Linked DNA regions of Homo sapiens: region 1 is linked to region 2. Evidence: promoter capture Hi-C in 16 types of primary human blood cells and fetal thymus (Javierre and others, 2016). All regions are on one chromosome and are shown on one strand. Each heading gives the region's core, a stretch centred on a gene start or on the middle of the fragment in contact. The rest is flanking DNA. Distances are from core to core; before and after follow the strand shown. Region 1 overlaps ATM (ATM serine/threonine kinase). Region 2 holds the start of EXPH5 (exophilin 5).

The links. The method cuts DNA at HindIII sites, captures the fragments that hold promoters and counts their contacts. A CHiCAGO score of 5 or more calls a contact.
Region 1: a contact is called between a fragment that was not itself captured here and the fragment with the promoter of EXPH5 in region 2, in 5 of 17 cell types (naive CD4 T cells, naive CD8 T cells, non-activated CD4 T cells and 2 more). The highest score is 6.6, in naive CD4 T cells.

The regions. Positions count from the first base shown.
Region 1 is chr11:108,352,096-108,357,704 of GRCh38, forward strand. ATM (ATM serine/threonine kinase) reads left to right here. Exons shown (of 63, transcript NM_000051.4): 60 at 1,671-1,785; 61 at 2,716-2,779. It also overlaps a transcript of C11orf65 not described here. Among named protein-coding and RNA genes, the nearest start is that of C11orf65, 110 kb to the right of the region's middle. The HindIII fragment of the contact is 171 bases long and covers 2,337-2,507 here.
Region 2 is chr11:108,589,776-108,595,387 of GRCh38, forward strand. It overlaps EXPH5 (exophilin 5), which reads right to left and starts at 3,993. Exons shown (of 6, transcript NM_015065.3): 1 at 3,643-3,993. The coding sequence starts at 3,761. RefSeq lists silencers at 3,470-3,529, 3,810-3,859, 3,880-4,179. The HindIII fragment of the contact is 3,661 bases long and covers 2,091-5,612 here.

The DNA.
Region 1 (5,609 bases), core at 1,172-3,671, 240 kb before region 2:
AGGTGTAGGTGTCAATTGAAAATCATTAGGCATACCTGGAACCAGGAAAATCTCAACTTTAATGAAAAATGGCCACCTGTAGGTGCCAACACTGAGATGACAATGATGTTGGAATTATCTAAGATTTTAAAGCAGCCATCATAAAAACACTGAAGGAACAATTACAAACATGCTTGAAACAAATTAAAATATAGTAAGTCTCAGCACAGAAATAAGTAGTCTCAGTATAGAAGTAGATATAAAGGAGAACCAGATGGAAATTTTAGAACAGAAAAATATAGTAAATAAAATAAAAAATTTCAACTGCAGAATGAGGAGACAGAAGAAATTATCAGTGAATAGAAGACAGAGCCGTAGAAATTACCCAAGCTGAGCAACAGAGGAAGAAAATTAAGAGGAAACCTTCAGCATCTAGGGCTAAACAGAGTTCCTAGACTTGATACCAAAAGAACAATCTTTAAGAACTCTCAAAACTTAACAACAAAATCTACTTATAAAATGGCCATGTACTACAAATGTGTATAGCAGCTTTATTCATAATAGCCAAGAACCGGAAAAATCCAGATGTTCTACAGTGGGCAAATGCTTAAACAAACTGTGTTACATCCATGCCCTGAAATACTACTCAGCAATGAAAAGAAACAGAACTATTGATATACATAACAATTTGGATGAATCTCCAGAGAATTAGGCTGAGTGTAAAAAGCTATTCCCAAAAGGTTACATACTGTATGATTATTCCACTTCCATTTATATAACATACTTGAAATGACAAAATTATAAAAATGGAGAACAGATTAGTGGCTGCTAGAAAAATAGGGGGTCAGAGGGCTGGGTGATAGGCTATGGGAGGGAAATAGGTGCAGCCGTAAAGGGCAGTATGAAGGATCCTTATGATAGGAATATTATATATCTTGACTGCATCGATGTCAGTAGTAGTATAGTTTTGCAGGACATTACAGTTGGGGTGAAATGGGGAAAAGGCATAAGGGATGATCTTTTCTGTATGATTTCTTACAACTCGAAGTGAACATATAATTATCTCATAAAATGTCATTAATTTTTTTTTTTTGATGGAGTTTCACTCTTGTCGCCCAGGCTGGAGTGCAATGGCACGATCTCAGCTCCATGTATCCTTCACCTCCCAGGTTCAAGTGATTCTCCTGTCTCAGCCTCCCGAGTAACTGGGATTATAGGCACCTGCTACCACACCCAGCTAATTTTTGTATTTTTAGTGGAGACAAGGTTTCACCATGTTGGCCAGGCTGGTCTCTTAACTCCTGACCTCAGGTGTCAGGCCTCCTCAGCCTCAAGGTGCTGGGATTACAGGCGGGAGCCACCACACCCAGCCTAAAAATTTTTTAAATATAAATATATCATCTCCATTTTAAATTATACCAGTAGTTACTTCATTTTTAAAAATCACCCTTTAACCTAGATTTCTCTAGTTGGGTTAAGAAGTAGTTAGGTTATTTGGATTTGAGGTGGATCTCACAGACAGTGACAAAGATGAGGAAGGCAGCCAGAGCAGAAGTAAACTACTGTACATACTAGTGTTCATAGAACGTAGGTAACATGTGGTTTCTTGCCTTTGTAAAGTTCACATTCTAACTGGAAAGAAAGTAAATTAGCTGTCAAACCTCCTAACTTCACTGTATTCTTTACTTTAGGTGTTGCTTTTGAACAGGGCAAAATCCTTCCTACTCCTGAGACAGTTCCTTTTAGACTCACCAGAGATATTGTGGATGGCATGGGCATTACGGGTGTTGAAGGTGTCTTCAGAAGGTAAGTGATATGAAGTAAAGGAGGGAAATAATTTTTGATGTCAAAATTACATGGGCTGGGCATGGTTCTTTGCACCTGTAATCCCAGCTGCTCAAGAGGCTGAAGTGGGAGGATTGTTTGAGCCCAGGAGTTTGAGTCCAGCCTAGGCAATACAGCAAGACCCTGTATCTAAAAAAATACACACACACAAACACACACACACACACACACACACACACACACACACGGGTTAGAGATTTGTATAGATTATAGAATTTAGTGCTAGAATCGTATTCCAGTGCCTTATCAATACTAAGGAAAAGACCCTGGGTAAAAGCAATAATAGTTCCTCTTCCTTCCACCCACCTGGGACCTAAGCCCATGTAACATACATACTGTTATTCCAAACCTCCTCTGGAAGCATCCCACCTTTACTTTTAACACCTCTATCCTGGCTGACTCCTTCTTAATGATCCAAACTACTATTGGGTGCTCATCACTGTGCATATAGAAGAGACTACATTTTTATTTATAGGAGCTTGTGTTCTAGTATAACATTGTGCTACTAAAAAAGCTTTGCAGTTCCTTGTAGTTTTCCCAGCATAGGTCTGTGTACTCAACTTGGATTGGGGCAGATTGCAGTCAGTGTAAACTAATAATTGCCACAATAATCAAAGACTGAGAGCTGAGCCCAGTGGTGCATGCCTGTAATCAATAGTGTTGTGTTATTCTTGTAAATGCCAAGCTTGTGAAATAGTCAAATACATATTTGTATTCATTTCAAACGTCTAATGAAAGCCCACTCTGCCAAGTATTATGCTATTTTGAGATACAGATATGTAGATTATTAAGCATAGGCTCAGCATACTACACATGAGAGTATACAGATAAAGATACGTTGACAACATTGGTGTGTAACAAAATCCGTATTTATAATGTGTTTGACTCTAGATGCTGTGAGAAAACCATGGAAGTGATGAGAAACTCTCAGGAAACTCTGTTAACCATTGTAGAGGTAAAGTATTTTATAAGGAAGACTTTATTTTTTTTCTTACCAGGTAGACTGTGTATCTCATCAGGAAGTCACTGATGTGAAGAGCACTGCTTCATTTTAACATAGGGGGATGTGGCTGGGCAGCAGAAAGGAGGAGATTGTGCACTTAGCCTTTTCACACATCCAAAAATACTGGTTTAGAAATGCCTTCAGCCCCCTTGAGTTTCTTGGAATGTTAGAGCATTGTAAGTAGTCTCTAGTTTTCAATTCATAAATCAATTCTTTGACATTTAGATATTCCATATGGTATTATTATTTTCAGAATGGTTTCCATTAGGGTTTAAGAAAAATCAGAAATTTATATCTCCTTTTTCCCTGCTCAGGTTCAGAACTAATTAGTCAGACAAATGGAGATCAAATTGTCAGCATCATTACTAGAGGAACATGGCTTAGGAATGAGGGCCAGACTAGTTTACTGCTGGTGCTACCTCAGTACCTCTCTGCTGTCTTAACTTTGGGACAGCTCACCTGAATAGGGTTTGGGCCTGCAGAGCAAACACATGTAATCAGGATCACTGCCTTGTCTTGATCCAGGGCAGAAAAAAGGAAGTCAAACAAATTTCAGTGTCTGTGCTGTTAGTACCTATGCCAGTCATTCACCAATCTGGTAAGGGTATGTGAGACAAGAAATCAGGAGTGTGGCCTCCCCAGGGAAGCATGGCAGGTAGAGTGCAGTATGGGCTTGCCACTTTTCCACTACTCAGCTTTTCTTCCTTTAACCTGATTTATGTTGGACTGGCTGCATGTTAGTATTACTTTTACTGCATTTAAAAAACATTGATGCTGATCAAATTCAAACCAGGTTTCTAGAGATGGGGCAGGAATATGTGCATTTTTAAAAATCTCTCCTACTGTTCAACTAGGATATGAGAACTGTCTTAATTCATTGGCATTAACCATTAAGCCTGTGGTCAATAAGGGTGGGGCTTTATCCCTTGGAAGATGAGTAACAGTCCATCAGGGTGGTCCTGTGTGCACCTTTATGAACCGAGGCATCTTTATAGATCTCCTTTGGACTGCAGATGGTAATACAGATTTTGCTACAAGGAGTTTGCTGAAATAGGTCCCAATAATACGTTGGTAAAATTAAATCCAAGGCTGTGCTATTCCCAAGGTTAAAAATACATTCTTTTTTCTTTTACCGATTTCAAATTCTGTTCATACATGTTGTCATTTGTTACAGTTTGCCATTGGTTCTGCAGTAAGAATAAATGATAAGAAAATAAGCATGATGTGTAACATTTTAAAAAAATAATACATGGTAACATGGATGCCTCAATAATGTCGAAATTAAACTCTAAAGTTATATTATCTTGCACTTTTTCATGTAAGAAAAAGAGGGCTGGGCGCGGTGGCTCATGCCTGTAATCCCAGCACTTTGAGAGGCCGAGACAGGTGGATCACCTGAGGTCAGGAGTTCAAGACCAGTTTGGCCAACATGGTGAAACCCCGTCTCTAATAAAAATGCAAAAATTAGCTGGGCGTGATGGCGGGCACCTGTAATCCCAGCTACTCAGGAGGCTGAGGCAGGAGAATCGCTTGAACCCAGGAGGTGGAGGTTGTAGTGAGCTGAAATTGCACCATTGCCCTCCAGCCTGGGCGACAAGAGCAAGACTCTGTCTGTCTTAAAAAAAAAAAAAAAAAAAAGCCCAAACTTTTCAAATTAAAGAGTCAAAGCAGCTTAACATATTCTTTAGTATTTTACTCTACCTAGTTTCAGTCAGAAGGGATTTTTATGCTAAGGTGGATTTGGGAGTTTCTTCCAGTACTTGTATCCTACCTAACACTCACCAGAAGAAGGTAGTTCTTTTAGGGCCTCAGAAATCTTACTAGTTTAATGCCAAACTGCTTATGGACTTCACTTTTTAGAGTAGTAGGAGATCAAATGAGAGAAGTGACAGTGGCCAGATCCTTTGCCATTGTAAGGACTTTGGATTTCCTTTGAGTGAGGGTTTTGAGTCTGAAAAGTGATTTGCATCTCCACCTACAATAACTGTCACCTTTAAACACACCCTCCGGGAGGAGGAGCCAAGATGGCCGAATAGGAACAGCTCCGGTATACAGCTCCCAGCGTGAGCGATGCAGAAGACAGGTGATTTCTGCATTTCCATCTGAGGTACCAGGTTCATCTCACTAGGGAGCGCCAGACAGTGGGCGCAGGTCAGTGGGTGCACGCACTGTGCGCGAACTGAAGCAGGGCAAGGCATTGCCTCACTTGGGAAGCGCAAGGGTCAGGGAGTTCCCTTTCCTAGTCAAAGAAAGGGGTGACAGACGGCACCTGGAAAATCGGGTCACTCCCACCCGAATATTGCGCTTTTTGGACCGGCTTAAAAAACGGCGCACCACGAGATTATATCCCGCAGCTGGCTTGGAGGGTCCTACGCCCACGGAGTCTCGCTGATTGCTAGCACAGCAGTCTGAGATCAAACTGCAAGGTGGCAGCGAGGCTGGGGGAGGGGCGCCCGCCATTGCCCAGGCTTGATTAGGTAAACAAAGCAGCCGGGAAGCTCGAACTGGGTGGAACCCACCACAGCTCAAGGAGACCTGCCTGCCTCTGTAGGCTCCACCTCTGGGGGCAGGGCACAGACAAACAAAAAGACAGCAGTAACCTCTGCAGACTTAAATGTCCCTGTCTGACAGCTTTGAAGAGAGTAGTGGTTCTCCCAGCACGCAGCTGGAGATCGGACAACAGGCAGACTGCCTCCTCAAGTGGGTTCCTGACCCCTGACCCCCGAGCAGCCTAACTGGGAGGCACCCCCCAGCAGGGGCACACTGACACCTCACACGGCAG
Region 2 (5,612 bases), core at 2,743-5,242:
GAAATAGATCTGGATTATAAATTCTGGCTCTGCTGCTTAAGTTGGACAAAATACTCGACCTTTTTTAATTGTTTCCTTCTCTGTGAAATGAGAATTAAAGTGTATACCTAATGAGGTTATTGGGAGGATTAATTAAATCTGTATAACATGTTTAGTACAGTGCCTAGTATATAGTAAGGGCCTAATAAATGTTAGCTGTCGTTATTACCACAATAATTACTATTATTACATAAAAAGGCAGCACTTAATATATGTTGGTGTGGCCATCTCCTCCACCTTAATCTCCTACTAATGAGAAATATCCAAGAATTGGACAATTGGGTCAAGCGTAAGGCGTATCTTGATAGATATTGCCATAATGCTCACCAAAAAGCTTGTAATCAACTTACAACGTCACTAACAATGTGCAAAATCTGTCCATTTCATTCCAACCCTCACCAACATTTTTTTTTCTGTCATTTTTAAAGGGGCAGCATGGTATCTCAAGGTTACTTCAATTTTCATTTATTACTGTGAGGGTAGACATTTTCCCATCTGTTATGTTTACTGTTTGGATATCTTCTGGTGTGAATGATTTATTTCTATCTTTTGCCTATTTATCAGTTTGAATCTTGGTGTTTTTCTTAAAAATCTGAATAAACTATATATTAGAAACATTAACTATTATATTTAATGCAAATACTTTCCTGGTAAGTTGGAGCCAGAGAGGTCTGGTACAGATGAGGGGAGATCAGGAGAAAGTTCTATGTGTTCAGGAACTTTTCTGTGGGTGGGGCTGCTGCCTTCTGCATGATGAACTCAACTACCCTCACACCTATCTCAGAACATCTCTGGCCCTGCATGACACTGTAGTTCTTTTTTAAAAAAAAATGATTTTATTTATTTTATTTTTAAAGACAGGGTCTCTACTGTGTCACTCTGGTTGGAGTGGAACAATCATAGTTCACTGCAGCCTTGAACTCTTGAGCTCAAGGGATCCTCCCACCTGAGCCTCCTGAGTAGCTAGTACTGCAAGTATGTGCCACAATATCAGGCTAAATTTATTTTTAATTTTTATTGTAGAGACATGGTCTCTCTGTGTTGGTCAGGCTGGTCTCAAACTCTTGGCCTCAAGCGATCCTTTTGCCTCAGTCTCCCAAAGCACTGGGATTACAGGCGTGAGCCACCGGGCCCAGCCCCAACTATAGGGTGCCTGTATTTCTTCTTAGTTGTCTTGCAGATACCTCAAGCCTATCATAGATATAAATGAACTCATCAGCCATTCCCCAACCTGCTAAATTTCTAAACTTCCCCATTTGGACCCTTATTGTTCTAGTCAAGAGGTCTTGAAGCTCTTTCTCAATACAGTAAAAAGGCTTCCCTGAGTCTCTCAGACAGGCCTGTTGAAGCATCTCTTTTTTGTTGTTGTTCACATATGCCAAGCCAGAACAGAATGAAATTATACTCTTGAGTTATAAGTCATGTGTCCTGATTTTTGATTTGGAAAATATGATCACACATATCAAGAAAATGAGCAGAAGAGGCAGCCAAGTTGCCATGTTGTCTCAGGCCCTTTCTGCATGCCAATATCTGATACTGAAATTAATACATGTGAGCCTGAAGTGGGTAAGCAGAACAATCCCATGGAGCCTGCAAGCCAGACATGGGTATTTGATAGTGGAAGTGGGGAATTAATCAAAGGAAAAGACAGTACTAGAAATCATTGCCTTGGGTATTTGGTCCACACATCTACTTTCCTTAAATGATTTTTGTATTTTAATGGTGATATTTTTCAAATTGTTTGGGCAATTAAATACTTTTAATAATTAGTATAATACAGTATCGATTTTGTCTTAGCATTATGGCTTTTTCTGTTGATGCTTCCATTAGAATATGAGTGCCATGAAATTAGAAAATGTGTTTTGACCTTCCTTCTAATGCCCAGCCCAATGGCTTTGTGTAGATACACGTGCTTTGTGTAGATCTATGTGGAGATCCAGTTCCCTCTAAAGTCAACTGCAGTGGGCATCGTGAGTTGCAATAGAGAAAACACAATAAGGCAAGCAAGCATCAGGTCAAAAATAAAAAGTCAAGATAACATCTTAAATGAAAGCTTCTCTCCTTGTTATTTTCTAACTCTCCCCTCAATTTCCCCAAATATACAATGGATCACTTAAGAAGCCCCATCCTCTTCAGAGACAAGAAACATTTCCAATAACACACACTGAGAATAACCGCAGTTTCTTAGTGCCTTTGGAATATGCACTGAAATTCCGTGCAGTTCTGAAATTCTTCTTCTGAAAGTTGGGTGTGCCTTGTGCGGTGCATGTGCATATGTGTAGGTACATTATGCACGTGGGTGTGTGTGGGTGTGGCATACTGTTCTCCTGAAGGCACACTTTCTACACTGTTCAGGGGAGGGGAATGATAAAGCCACTTTTTCTCAAGGCAGATGGTATGAAATCCATATTCCCCAACCTCAAATATTCCTTCATCCCTCAAAGAGTCATGTTTAGGGGAGAAGGGTGAAGTCAGGGCATTGGGCTTAGTGTATTCTAATTCTTTCTACAAAGACCAACTAGATTTTCCAATTTGAAGAGGGTCCCTGGAGGGTTTCTTTTGTCGGCGGTGGGGGACAGGCAATTCTAGAAAGAATTGGGAACCTGGAACTCGCATTAGCAAGCAGTTGATCATAAAACAAAATGACTTGCTAAATTCCAATCAATGGCACACAGTGTGGTCTGAGAGTGATGTCCTGAATTCCCTTCCACAGTTATCTAGAGAAGGACTTAGATGGATATATTCCAATATTGGCGAGAGAGTCCCTTTAATTCATTCCAGCACTTATCCCACACTTCCCCAGCAGAAAAACTGGTTAATGTACATCCTGGGTAATTATCTGTGTCTCTGGATTTCATTCTTTAGTAACTAATCCCTCACCTACAACAGTGTATAGTAAGGTCAAGGATGAAATTTCTCAGAAACTCGCTCCCCACAGCACCACGCACAAGAAGACCCACCCATTCCAGCCAACCCCGTGTGTCCAAGTCCCATTCGCCCACATAAGCCTCTATTTGACAAATTCCTCGAGCTCCTACCCTTGGGGTGGGGACCTTTCGCCTCCCGTGAGGTGCCGGCTCTCCCGTGCTTCGCTGACTGCCCGCATTGGGTGGGGAGATTCGCCTCTGGTGCCGAGGGAAAACTGCGTTAGGCGAGGGTGGAAGCTCTGTCGGACCCGTGCGAGCACGTGGGTGCGCGCGGGCCGCGGAGTGAGCAGCAGCCAGGATTCCTCTCCAGATCGCGCCCCCGCCGCATTTCATTGCCTGAAACGGCCCACGCCCCGCGATGGCCCAGCAGACACCCGGCACAGCACAGCGTCACTGCGCGGCCCCCGCAGCGCACGGACCCCCCCACCCTGCCCGACCCCAGACCCGCAGCCGAGCCCGTCTGGTATGTGGTGGGTGGAGAGGGTACCAACTAAGCATCCCAAAGTCCTTCAGGGAGCAACTCCGCGCAGTTTTCTCTTCCCGACCCGCAGCCTCCGCAGCAGCCGCTCGGAGCACCCCCGGGCAGGTGCCCCGCGCGAGCTCAGCGCCTTCCCCGCGGATCCCCGGCCCCTGCGGGACCCAGGCCCAGGACAAAAGAAATGAATTTGCTCTGTACCTGATCCTGTCCTTCTCGGCCCTCTGTAACTCCTCATTCCTTTCCAGCACCTGAAGGATCTTCCTGGCCTCTTCGTCATTTAAGAAACTGAAATCAAACGCCGGAGGAACTTTCGTCATTTTCTTTACTGTGTGTGAGTTACACTTAAGCTCCTTGGCGCCTCCTGTTAGGAAGGCATTTTTCAACCTGTACAAGACCAGTTTCACGAACTTGATCCCACAGCCAATAATAAGTCCGCCCCTTTGAAAGTCTAAAACCACAAACCTAGGGAACGCCCACACCTGAAGGGCTCATATTGACAATACCTTAATGACATGTTTCTCTCAACCTGTCCAACCGAGATGCAAAGTGAACGGCTAAAGGGAGAGAGGGAACCAATCCCGTTCCAAGGGGGCGGGCCCTCCCTTGTCCCCTCCCTCGTCCCCTCCCTCGTCTCGTCCCGTCCCTCGTCCCCTCCCTCGTCCCCTCCGGTCACCCTCCCCGCCCCCTATCTGAGTTGTTAAGCAAACAAGCCTACATAATTCTGCCTCTTAAGTGAGGCAAGGCTAAGTGTTGGCGCCAAAGTATTTGCTTTTGCTGTTGCTGTTTGCTCGCAGAACTTGAGCTTGATTAGTAAAGGAGTGAAAAAGGAGATTCATGACTAATCCTCCCTTTCAATAATTAAGAGCCCATAGAAAATAGAATTGCAAGTAGGGTTTGTAACTGGCAAAAGGGTTACTTATCTGAAAGACCAGGAAGAACTAAACTCAATTACACTACTGACTGTGGATGAACCTGGCTGAAGGGCGGAAATTAGTGTATCCTTGGAAACGAATTATTTGCCAAGCCTCTCATCCCACAGACACCCCCACCTCCACTGTCCCACAAAAGTCATTCTTAGACTTTAGAAACAAACAAACAAACAAACAAAACCGTTTATGGTATTTTAGGAGAAGACAGCCCAGAAGCAAAGGACTGTAGAAAACACCTGTTAGAAGTTTTCTGTAAGATTTTATTATCATCTTAATAAACTCAGAGAAGTAATACACATGCCATTTAAAAATACCTAATCCTCTGGTGAAAGCAAATGGTAATCCTATGAAGCCACAGAAATAGCTTTCCTAGAAAGTCAATTGTTCCACAATGCAATGAAGAATAATAGAAACTTATAAAGATATTCACATATATACTTTTTTTTTAATTATCAAGGCTTTTACAGAAAACATGTTTTTATCTTGGCTTCACTTCCTACCCAAAAATAACTCTGTCAGATTGACTTTCCTGCCCCATAGCCTTAATTTGGTCATTTTGAAGATGGTGGTGATGATTACTAACATATAAAATGTACTTCTACATATATCATTTCTTTTCATGGCACATAAACCCAATTAAAATTTTGTATCTGTACAAGAACATGATATCAAAAATTGCCACTTGTGTTTTGTTCTCTGGGCTACCCCATTTGATCATCATTATTTAAAACATGCCTAGGCAGCTAGCCATTCAGATAACTTTCTGTGGGTGTCTGTTATTTGTGTGAACCAGGAACCAATTTTGTTCACCCATGGTGTACACAATACAGAACTCCTTTATAAATAGTGTCTGTATTAATGATCCTGTTTTGGGAGTATGTCTTGTATATGGTGTCCAGTTTTTCTAGTGTGTTCATTTATTCAGCATACACATGGGACTTTTCAATATGGTCACTGGTGGGATTTTACACTGTTTCCAGTATATCAGTGAACTGATTTCAACCAACGTATCCTGGTGCCTATTACATGAAGGCATCACACACTGTGAACAACACAGTCCTTGTCTTTAGAAAGTTTGTAATCCAGTGGGAGAGATACACAAATAGAAAGATGACTATGTAAAAAAGAACATAATAGAGGAATAAAGAAAATTCCATGAGCACACAGAAAAGTTAGTGCCAACTGAGTGGATGGAGAGAGGATACGGTATTTAGGTTGCTGCATGAAGAGTCAGATTTC